Regions from separate parts of the Homo sapiens genome. Here all the other regions are linked to region 3. The links are contacts of gene promoters, found by promoter capture Hi-C in human tissues and cell types (Jung and others, 2019). All regions are on one chromosome and are shown on one strand. The core of a region is centred on a gene start or on the middle of the fragment in contact, and the rest is flanking DNA. Distances in the headings are between cores, read along the strand shown.

Evidence for each region. Contacts are between HindIII fragments. The study calls those that stand out against the background at their distance.
Region 1: a contact is called between a fragment that was not itself captured here and the fragment with the promoter of PHYHD1 in region 3, in 4 of the 25 tissues and cell types used here (adrenal gland, dorsolateral prefrontal cortex, spleen and 1 more).
Region 2: a contact is called between a fragment that was not itself captured here and the fragment with the promoter of PHYHD1 in region 3, in 4 of the 25 tissues and cell types used here (hippocampus, lymphoblastoid cells, pancreas and 1 more).

What each region holds. Positions count from the first base shown.
Region 1 is chr9:128,575,031-128,577,730 of GRCh38, forward strand. SPTAN1 (spectrin alpha, non-erythrocytic 1) reads left to right here. Exons shown (of 57, transcript NM_001130438.3): 5 at 169-315; 6 at 1,793-1,926; 7 at 2,099-2,243; 8 at 2,322-2,476. Among named protein-coding and RNA genes, the nearest start is that of SPTAN1, 24 kb to the left of the region's middle. The HindIII fragment of the contact is 4,698 bases long and covers 1-2,700 here.
Region 2 is chr9:128,607,262-128,609,961 of GRCh38, forward strand. It overlaps SPTAN1 (spectrin alpha, non-erythrocytic 1), which reads left to right. Exons shown (of 57, transcript NM_001130438.3): 32 at 343-442; 33 at 591-788; 34 at 869-1,015; 35 at 1,613-1,716; 36 at 1,861-2,023; 37 at 2,390-2,404. Among named protein-coding and RNA genes, the nearest start is that of DYNC2I2, 48 kb to the right of the region's middle. The HindIII fragment of the contact is 5,536 bases long and covers 1-2,700 here.
Region 3 is chr9:128,919,532-128,922,231 of GRCh38, forward strand. PHYHD1 (phytanoyl-CoA dioxygenase domain containing 1) reads left to right here and starts at 1,451. Exons shown (of 13, transcript NM_001100876.2): 1 at 1,451-2,137; 2 at 2,399-2,516. The HindIII fragment of the contact is 13,888 bases long and covers 1-2,700 here.

The sequences.
Region 1 (2,700 bases), core at 101-2,600, 340 kb before region 3:
CAACCTCTTAACTTTCTGTGGGAGGAACTAAAATCACAAACCACAGACAAAACTGTATCCATTAAAGCTAACATGGCTCCGTCCCTAATGTGTCTGTTTGATGTTTCTGGAAGCCATTGTTAACAAATGTTGGTTGGTGACTCTGGCTCTCTTATGGTCCCTGAATAGGAAGCAATTGTTACTTCTGAAGAGCTGGGCCAGGATCTGGAGCATGTAGAGGTTTTACAGAAGAAATTTGAAGAGTTTCAAACAGATATGGCTGCTCATGAAGAAAGAGTTAATGAAGTGAACCAGTTTGCTGCCAAACTCATACAGGTAAATAGCAAAGTGCTGTATGCTTCTCACAACATTATTATGTTAACTTTTTAGTATATTCAGGATAAAATTTTGATGATTGGTCCCCTAATTTCTGAGTGAGCAAGTTTTTGTAAGCATGTCTGAGAGTTTTGTTTAGATGTGAGGCACAATACTGATTACTCCTAAATTGGAAAATGCTTTTCAATGTGTTGCCTTGGGCAGGAAGGGCAGAGTTCATTTGATCTGTTTCCTCTACCCACTTTTGGGTAGGGCTGGGTGAAGCTTTTATTGGACTGCTGAAGCTAGGTCTCAGGGTTTCTCAGACGAGGGTGTGGTGGTGAATGCTAAGTTAGTATTGGCAGATGTCCACCAATGCATTAGGGCTCTTGCCTTCCTTTTTTATTTGAAGCTTCCCTGGGCTCTCTTGGGAGCCTGGGAGAACCTTGTCGTGAATAGGCTCTCCACTCTGGCGCTGGAGCCCATTAAGAGGGAATGACAACCCTTCCCCAGTGCCCACGTGTACAATCCTGTAAGCTGCTTCCACTACGAGTCCAAAGGGTTCCAAAGACATCAAGTACTCGGAACCAGAGAGTTTTTACTTTTAGGGAAATTTGATTTGGGGGGTACAAATTTTAAGTGTATAAATCTGCTTATAGGCTGGTACTTGTTTCCATTTTCTGGCCAGTGATTAAGAGAAAGATACCCGGCATTCCTCAGAAATATCTCACCCTTCCACAGTGACAGATGTGTTGCTTTTCCAAACCCTAAGCTTTCCTGCGGTTGAGCTTGAGAAAAGTAGTCAGGCCAAACCCATGGTATCCCAGATGGATTCAAGAACCCTGAAATGCTTCATTTTATTACTTTGTATCATATTTTTTAAAACACCAAAATGTGGTTGGTAGGGAAGGATACTTTTAAAGAAATGTCTCTAAGCTTGATGCAGTGGCACCTGCCTATAGACCCAGCTACTCTACTCAGACTCAGGCTGACAAGACAGGATCACTTGAGACCAGCCTGGGTAACATAGCAAGACCCTGTCTCAAAAAAGAAAAAAAGAAATGTCGTCAGTCTAAAGCCAGGGACAAACTCTTGAGCCCCGAAAATTATGTTTATGTGCAAGAATGCTTAACAGCCTCATGAACATCTGAAATACCAAATTTTCAAGCAGTTAGGGTAGATGAGTACATTGATAAAGTTACCACACAGTTGTTGCCAAACTATTTATTAACATAAAGGTTTTTGGCACTTTTGCACATAACCACCTTATAGACTAACCACACTACTCCAAAAGATAGAGAATGGCTCTCCCCTTTTTACATAAGAAATAGAAACTCTTTGGAGTTGTAGTTCACTTTGTATCATGTTGACCATTATTTCTTGTGATTCTCTTCAGAGTGGTGATTTGCTGAGATGCTTCAAGGAACCAACCCCAGGGTAACTAGTTGGAGGAGCCAGAAGTTGTGTACAAATCCAGTCTCTTCTCTTCCTTGTTTAGGAGCAGCACCCTGAGGAGGAACTGATCAAGACTAAGCAGGATGAAGTCAATGCAGCCTGGCAGCGGCTGAAGGGCCTGGCTCTGCAGAGGCAGGGGAAGCTCTTTGGGGCAGCAGAAGTTCAGCGCTTTAACAGGTGTCAAGCCAGAGTGGGCTTTGGGGAATGGGTCTCAACCTGGAGGGGAGTTGTGAAGCACAGGGCATGTGCTGGTGAGCTGTCGAGGCTGACTAGGCCTTGGTCCCATGGGGTGTTCCTAGTTCTAGGGAGTCATCATTGCTGTGGATTAACTGGTGCCTTTGTTCTGTAGGGATGTGGATGAGACTATCAGTTGGATTAAGGAAAAGGAGCAGTTAATGGCCTCTGATGATTTTGGCCGAGACCTGGCAAGTGTTCAGGCTCTGCTTCGGAAGCACGAGGGTCTGGAGAGAGATCTTGCTGCTCTAGAAGACAAGGTGGGTTTTACAAGCAGCTGATTCTGTAAATAAGTTACCAAGGGTCAGGAGAATAGTTCTGACGGAGTTCATTTCTAGGTCAAAGCCCTGTGTGCTGAGGCTGACCGCCTGCAACAGTCCCACCCTCTGAGTGCAACACAGATTCAAGTGAAGCGAGAGGAACTGATTACAAACTGGGAGCAGATCCGCACCTTGGCGGCAGAGAGACATGCACGGCTCAATGATTCATACAGGTGCAAATAATGCTCCAGGTCTTAACCAGTATCATTTGGCTTCTTTTTTGGAAGCAGGAATAGCAGAGTTAAGGGTCTGTTCTGTGTTCTGTGAAAGTGTCAGGTATCACCTACAAATGCAAATCACTTCTTACCTATGTTCTCTCTGTTTGGAGACTGGCAACTGTATCATGTGTAGTATACGTATGGTATTTACAACTTCATAAATTCTTCTATTCTGCATC
Region 2 (2,700 bases), core at 156-2,655, 310 kb before region 3:
CCAAAGTGCTGGGATTACAGGCATGAGCCACCACGCCTGGCCAACAAAAGCTTTTTCATTTGAAGCTATCAAAGACTTAATTGTAGCTAGAACTTGTTATTCTGGAGGGTGAAAAGATCTTAATTATAAGCCTACTGACTTTTCCTCTGAGAAATTCGGACTTTTAAAAAAATAACAAGAAGTTTTTTAACACTTTGCCCAAAGACCTAGCCTCATTCAGTAGATCAGATTAACCCAAGATAACTTTCTGAGGCAAGAATTATGTCATTCTCTGTTTTCCTGGGCAGAAGATCTCCTTACCAGGTAATATAATAGCTATTTTTCTGGGGTGCTGGTTTCCAGGGACCTCATGTCTTGGATCAATGGAATACGGGGGTTGGTGTCCTCAGATGAGCTAGCCAAGGATGTCACCGGAGCTGAGGCATTGCTGGAGCGACACCAGGTGGGTGGACCTGCCTGCTGAGTAGCAAAGACGTGGCTGCTCTGCAGGGCCCTAGAGGCCTCATTCCCACCCTTTGTGGTGAGTCGGTGGTTGACGTCAGAGTGGGCATCTGCTGCCAGTTACCTAATCCCTTCCCTCCTTTTGGCAGGAACACCGGACAGAAATCGATGCCAGGGCTGGCACTTTCCAGGCATTTGAGCAGTTTGGACAGCAGCTGTTGGCTCACGGACACTATGCCAGCCCTGAGATCAAGCAGAAACTTGATATTCTTGACCAGGAGCGTGCAGACCTGGAGAAGGCCTGGGTTCAGCGCAGGATGATGCTGGATCAGTGCCTTGAACTGCAGGTGTGTGTGCTCCTGGTTTCTGACCAAGTGTTTCCTTGCTGAAGGGCCTCATTTTCTCACCTGCCTCTTGCCCTCTTTAGCTGTTCCATCGGGACTGTGAGCAAGCTGAGAACTGGATGGCTGCCCGGGAGGCCTTCTTGAATACCGAAGACAAAGGAGACTCACTGGACAGCGTAGAGGCTCTGATCAAAAAACATGAAGACTTTGACAAAGCGATTAACGTCCAGGTGAGGCCTCTGGACCATGGAGTTGGAGTCTGGATTTTTCCTGATTGACATCTGTTTCTTGGCTTATATAGTCACTGTTATATCTCCAAGGAATACCTGCGTTGTCTAAGAAAAATATGTACATAAATAATCTTTAAAACTTTATAGATTCTGGTATTTCTGAGATTTTAATAATGGGGGTGCCACAGGAAAAAAAAATATTATCAAAGGGATGGAAAACAAATGTGTGGGTAGGTAAGGGAATAATGAACAAACAACAAGGAAGATGTAAAACTGTTTGATTTATACGTCACTTTGCTGTAAATCTGACAGCATTTTCCTATTATCAGGCTTAATTTTGTTCTGTTCTGATATTCTAACACCTGCCCCACCTGAGTGACCTGGAGACTTCTTGAGTTAAACTCTACTCTAGTAATGAATGAAATCAAGCTTTCTTTTGGCATTTTACACTCTTGCTTCTAAAGTGTCAGTGTATTCTGATCCTGCCACCAGCTAGTTCTCAGTCACCCAAAATAACTATCCTTTTCTCAAGACTGGCAGTCCAGGCAGGGCCCAGCCACAGGCCCACCTTGATCTCATGCCTTTGTTTTCTGACAGGAAGAGAAGATTGCTGCTCTGCAGGCCTTTGCCGACCAGCTCATCGCTGCCGGCCATTATGCCAAGGGAGACATTTCTAGCCGGCGCAATGAGGTCTTGGACAGGTGGGTGTCCTGTGGCACTGACATAGTCACCAGCCCTGAGAGGATGCATCCCCTCATACGAAGGCCCAGGCCTGTTCTGTCTCCCCACTTCCTTCTCCACGGTAAGATATGCTCATGTTGGATCTCATGGTTTCACTCTTTCAGGTGGCGACGTCTGAAAGCCCAGATGATTGAGAAAAGGTCAAAGCTAGGAGAATCTCAAACCCTCCAACAGTTCAGCCGGGATGTGGATGAGATTGAGGCTTGGATCAGTGAAAAATTGCAAACAGCGAGTGATGAGTCGTACAAGGATCCCACCAACATCCAGGTAAGCTGAAGTGACTGGGTGTTGGTCTTGATGTAGCCTTATGTTATTGAGTAGATTTTGTTAAATAAAGCATTTATAAAACAATCTCCTTGCACCCATGGGAAGTCAGTGAGAAATATTTCAGTAAGCCCAGCCAGTGGGAAAGCCCTAGTCAAGTTTCAGAGCCATTTAAAAGTTGCCTTCCTCATTTGTCTCCATTAAAACTATTTCTGCTGTAATAAAAGTCTATAGAATCCCCCTTCTATTACTGTTCCCAAATGCTGAGCTTCCTGGGGGAAGTATGACAAAATGAGTTTCTATTTAATAGCTGATATGTGTGTCCACATCAGTGTACTGAACTCTTGTTCTTTTAATCTGTTTTTGTAGCTTTCCAAGCTGCTGGTAAGTTTTTAATTTTTTTAAGAGTTGTAGTTAAATGAGCTCCAGTATTTGTGTTACTCTGCGTAGATTATTGTTATTATTGTGGTCACACGGTTTGCTGGTGTCTCTTCATCCATCCTTTTCATTTCTAATCATCCATTACACTCCATTCAAGTGTCCCTGTGGGATGTGGCTTTTTCTGTTGTAATTAGCCTGCAACGCCTTACTCCCCCTTCTCTCCCCCAGTTTATCACTTAGGCAAATTCTGTACAGTGTTTGATTTGCGGGGCAGTAATTGACCATTTTCTTTCAAGGAG
Region 3 (2,700 bases), core at 201-2,700:
GAGGCCTGGGTGGCTGCTTGGGCACCTCCTCTACAACTGGACAGAGTCTATCCCTCCTCCCTCCACGGGGACTCTGACCCCTCCAGGTGAACTCAGGCCTGAGCCAAGATTCCCTCCCTCTTCTCCCCCTGCCATGGGCTGACAGGCTGAGCAGCTGGACTGTGACTGCCGGGCTGGGGCCTTCTTTTCTGTTTCCGTGGTGGAGGTCCCTCCCCCAGTTTGGTACCCTTCCCACCACCCCCCGACCCCACTCCCGCCCCCACCCTGGCCTTGAGGCTGTCCAGCGCCTGGAGCAGGAGAGTTCGATCTGGAGCTGGTTTACATTTGGAAAAAACCACCATGTAGAAACACCGCCCACCCACTTCCCAAAGTTGAGCAGAATGAACAGTTAGTGGGAGGCTGGGCCTCTCCCCTCCCCCTCCCCCACCCACCCAGGGCTCTCCACTCTGCCTAAAACCACTGTGGTGGTCTTCTCTCTGATTGTAACAGCAATTTTGGAAGCTCAAAAAAATTGTTTAAATTATATTCCACCCAGCTGGGCGCGGTGGCTCACGCCTGTAATCCCAGCACTTTGGGAGGCCGAGGCAGGCAGATCACAAGGTCAGGAGATTGAGACCATCCTGGCTAACGCGGTGAAACCCCATCTCTACTAAAAAATATAAAAAATTAGCCAGGCGTGGTGGCAGGCGCCTGTAGGCCCAGCTACTGGGGAGGCTGAGGCAGGAGAATGGCGTGAACCCGGGAGGCGGAGCTTGCAGTGAGCTGAGATTGCGCCACTGCACTCCAGCCTGGGTGACAGAGCGAGACTCCATCTCAAAAAAAATAAATAAAATAAAAAATAAATAAATAAATAATATTCCACTCAGAACAGCCCCTGCTAACATTTGGTGAACAACTTGTTCACCAGTTGGTAGGCACTTACTCAGCGCCAGGCCTGGTGCCAAGCTCTTTATCAGCTGCGAAGCATTCATCTTATTTACTGCTCACAGGGGATCCTACTGCTAGCCCCAAATTACAGACTGGGAAAGTAAGGCCTGAACATCTGGGACGCAAACACAGTCTGCTTCACTGAGTCTCTACTACAAGCCTTCTGTGGGGGCTCCCAGGGGAATGGCTGGCCCAGTCCGAGGGGACCTCAGTGTTCTTGGCACATGGTAGGCATCTGTCTTTGTTGGGCAGTTGCATCAGAAGGGTTAAGGACAGCTGGGAACACATCCTGCCTCTAGTGAACCTCGTGGTTCTGTCATCTGCCTGCCCCTCACCCAGCCTAACCCCTCTGAACCAGGAGCCTGAGCTGCACTTACTGCTCCCCCCTGCCCCCCGGACGGCCTGGACCAAGCAGCAGCTCCCAGAGCGGTGGCCCAGCAAACACGACTTGACTCGAGGCCAAGGCTCTTGAGGGCTGAGCAGTGTCCCCATGCACACTCCTGAAACACTTTGTCCCTTCGCCATTCAGAAGGCATCATTTTGGGGAAGGCAGCAGCCGGTTTTTCAGAGCCAGCGAGTGGCCCTGCCAGCTGCTGAGCAGGGCAAGCTGAGAAGGGTGGTGGTGTGCAAGTGTTATTCTCTCTTTTTGTTTTTGTTTTTGTTTTTTGAGATGGAGTCTTACTCTGTCGTCCAGGCTGGAGTGAGTGCCGTGGCATGATCTCGGCTCACTGCAACCTCCGCCTCCTGGGTTCAAGCGATTCTCCTGCCTCAGCCTCCCGAGTAACTGGGACTACAGGCACCTGCCACCATGCTCGGCTAGTTTTTGGTATTTTTATTTATTATTTATTTATTTATTTTGAGACCGAGTCTCGCTCTGTCGCCCAGGCTCTAGTGCAGTGGCCCAATCTCGGCTCACTGCAAGCTCCGCCTCCCGCGTTCACGCCATTCTCCTGCCTCAGCCTCGCGAGCAGCTGGGACTACAGGTGCCCGCCACCACGCCCGGCTAATTTTTTGTATTTTTAGTAGAGACGGGGTTTCACCGTGTTAGCCAGGATGGTCTCGATTTCCTGACCTCGTGATCCGCGCGCCTCTGCCTCCAAAGTGCTGGGATTACAGGCCCGAGCCGCCGCACCCGGCCTGCAGGTGTTGTTCTGACCCCAGCTCCACTGTGCCAGCCCGACTTGAGATGCCAAGTATCTTGGGCCTGAGGGTGGGTAACAGGAAGCATCTCTCTCTCCTCAGCCCCTTCCTCCTACTAAGATACCCCATGTCTCCTACTTTCGTCTGAGCTGCAGATGGATGCGTTAATTCCCTTCCATAATCCTCCCAGGACCGAGAGGGTTTCAGATCGGTGCTGGGAGGGGCCCAGATAGTTCTCCCCAGGACCTCTTCCACCTTTGGAATGCCCATTACCTGGAGAAGGGGGGTGCCGCACATCCCCCAGACCAACCCTGCATCCCATTCTATCCAGATTGAGGCCTAGAGAGAGGCAGGCGTTCCTCAGAGTCACAGGGAATGGCGGCGCCTGGACTGGGACTCAGCCCAGCTGCTTGGCCTGACCCTCTCACAGCATAATTTCCCGGCACCTGGTAAGCAGTGGTGGGGGGTGGTTTCCAGAAGAAACACAGAGGAAGCAGATAAAATCCTTGGAGATGGGAAAGGGCAAATCCTGGATTAGTTGTGGGGGTGGGGGAGATTAGCCTGGAGGTCACAGGCTGATCTGGCTGTGTCTAGGGAAGGAGGGTTGGGTGGTGGGACCGGGTTTTCTCCGGG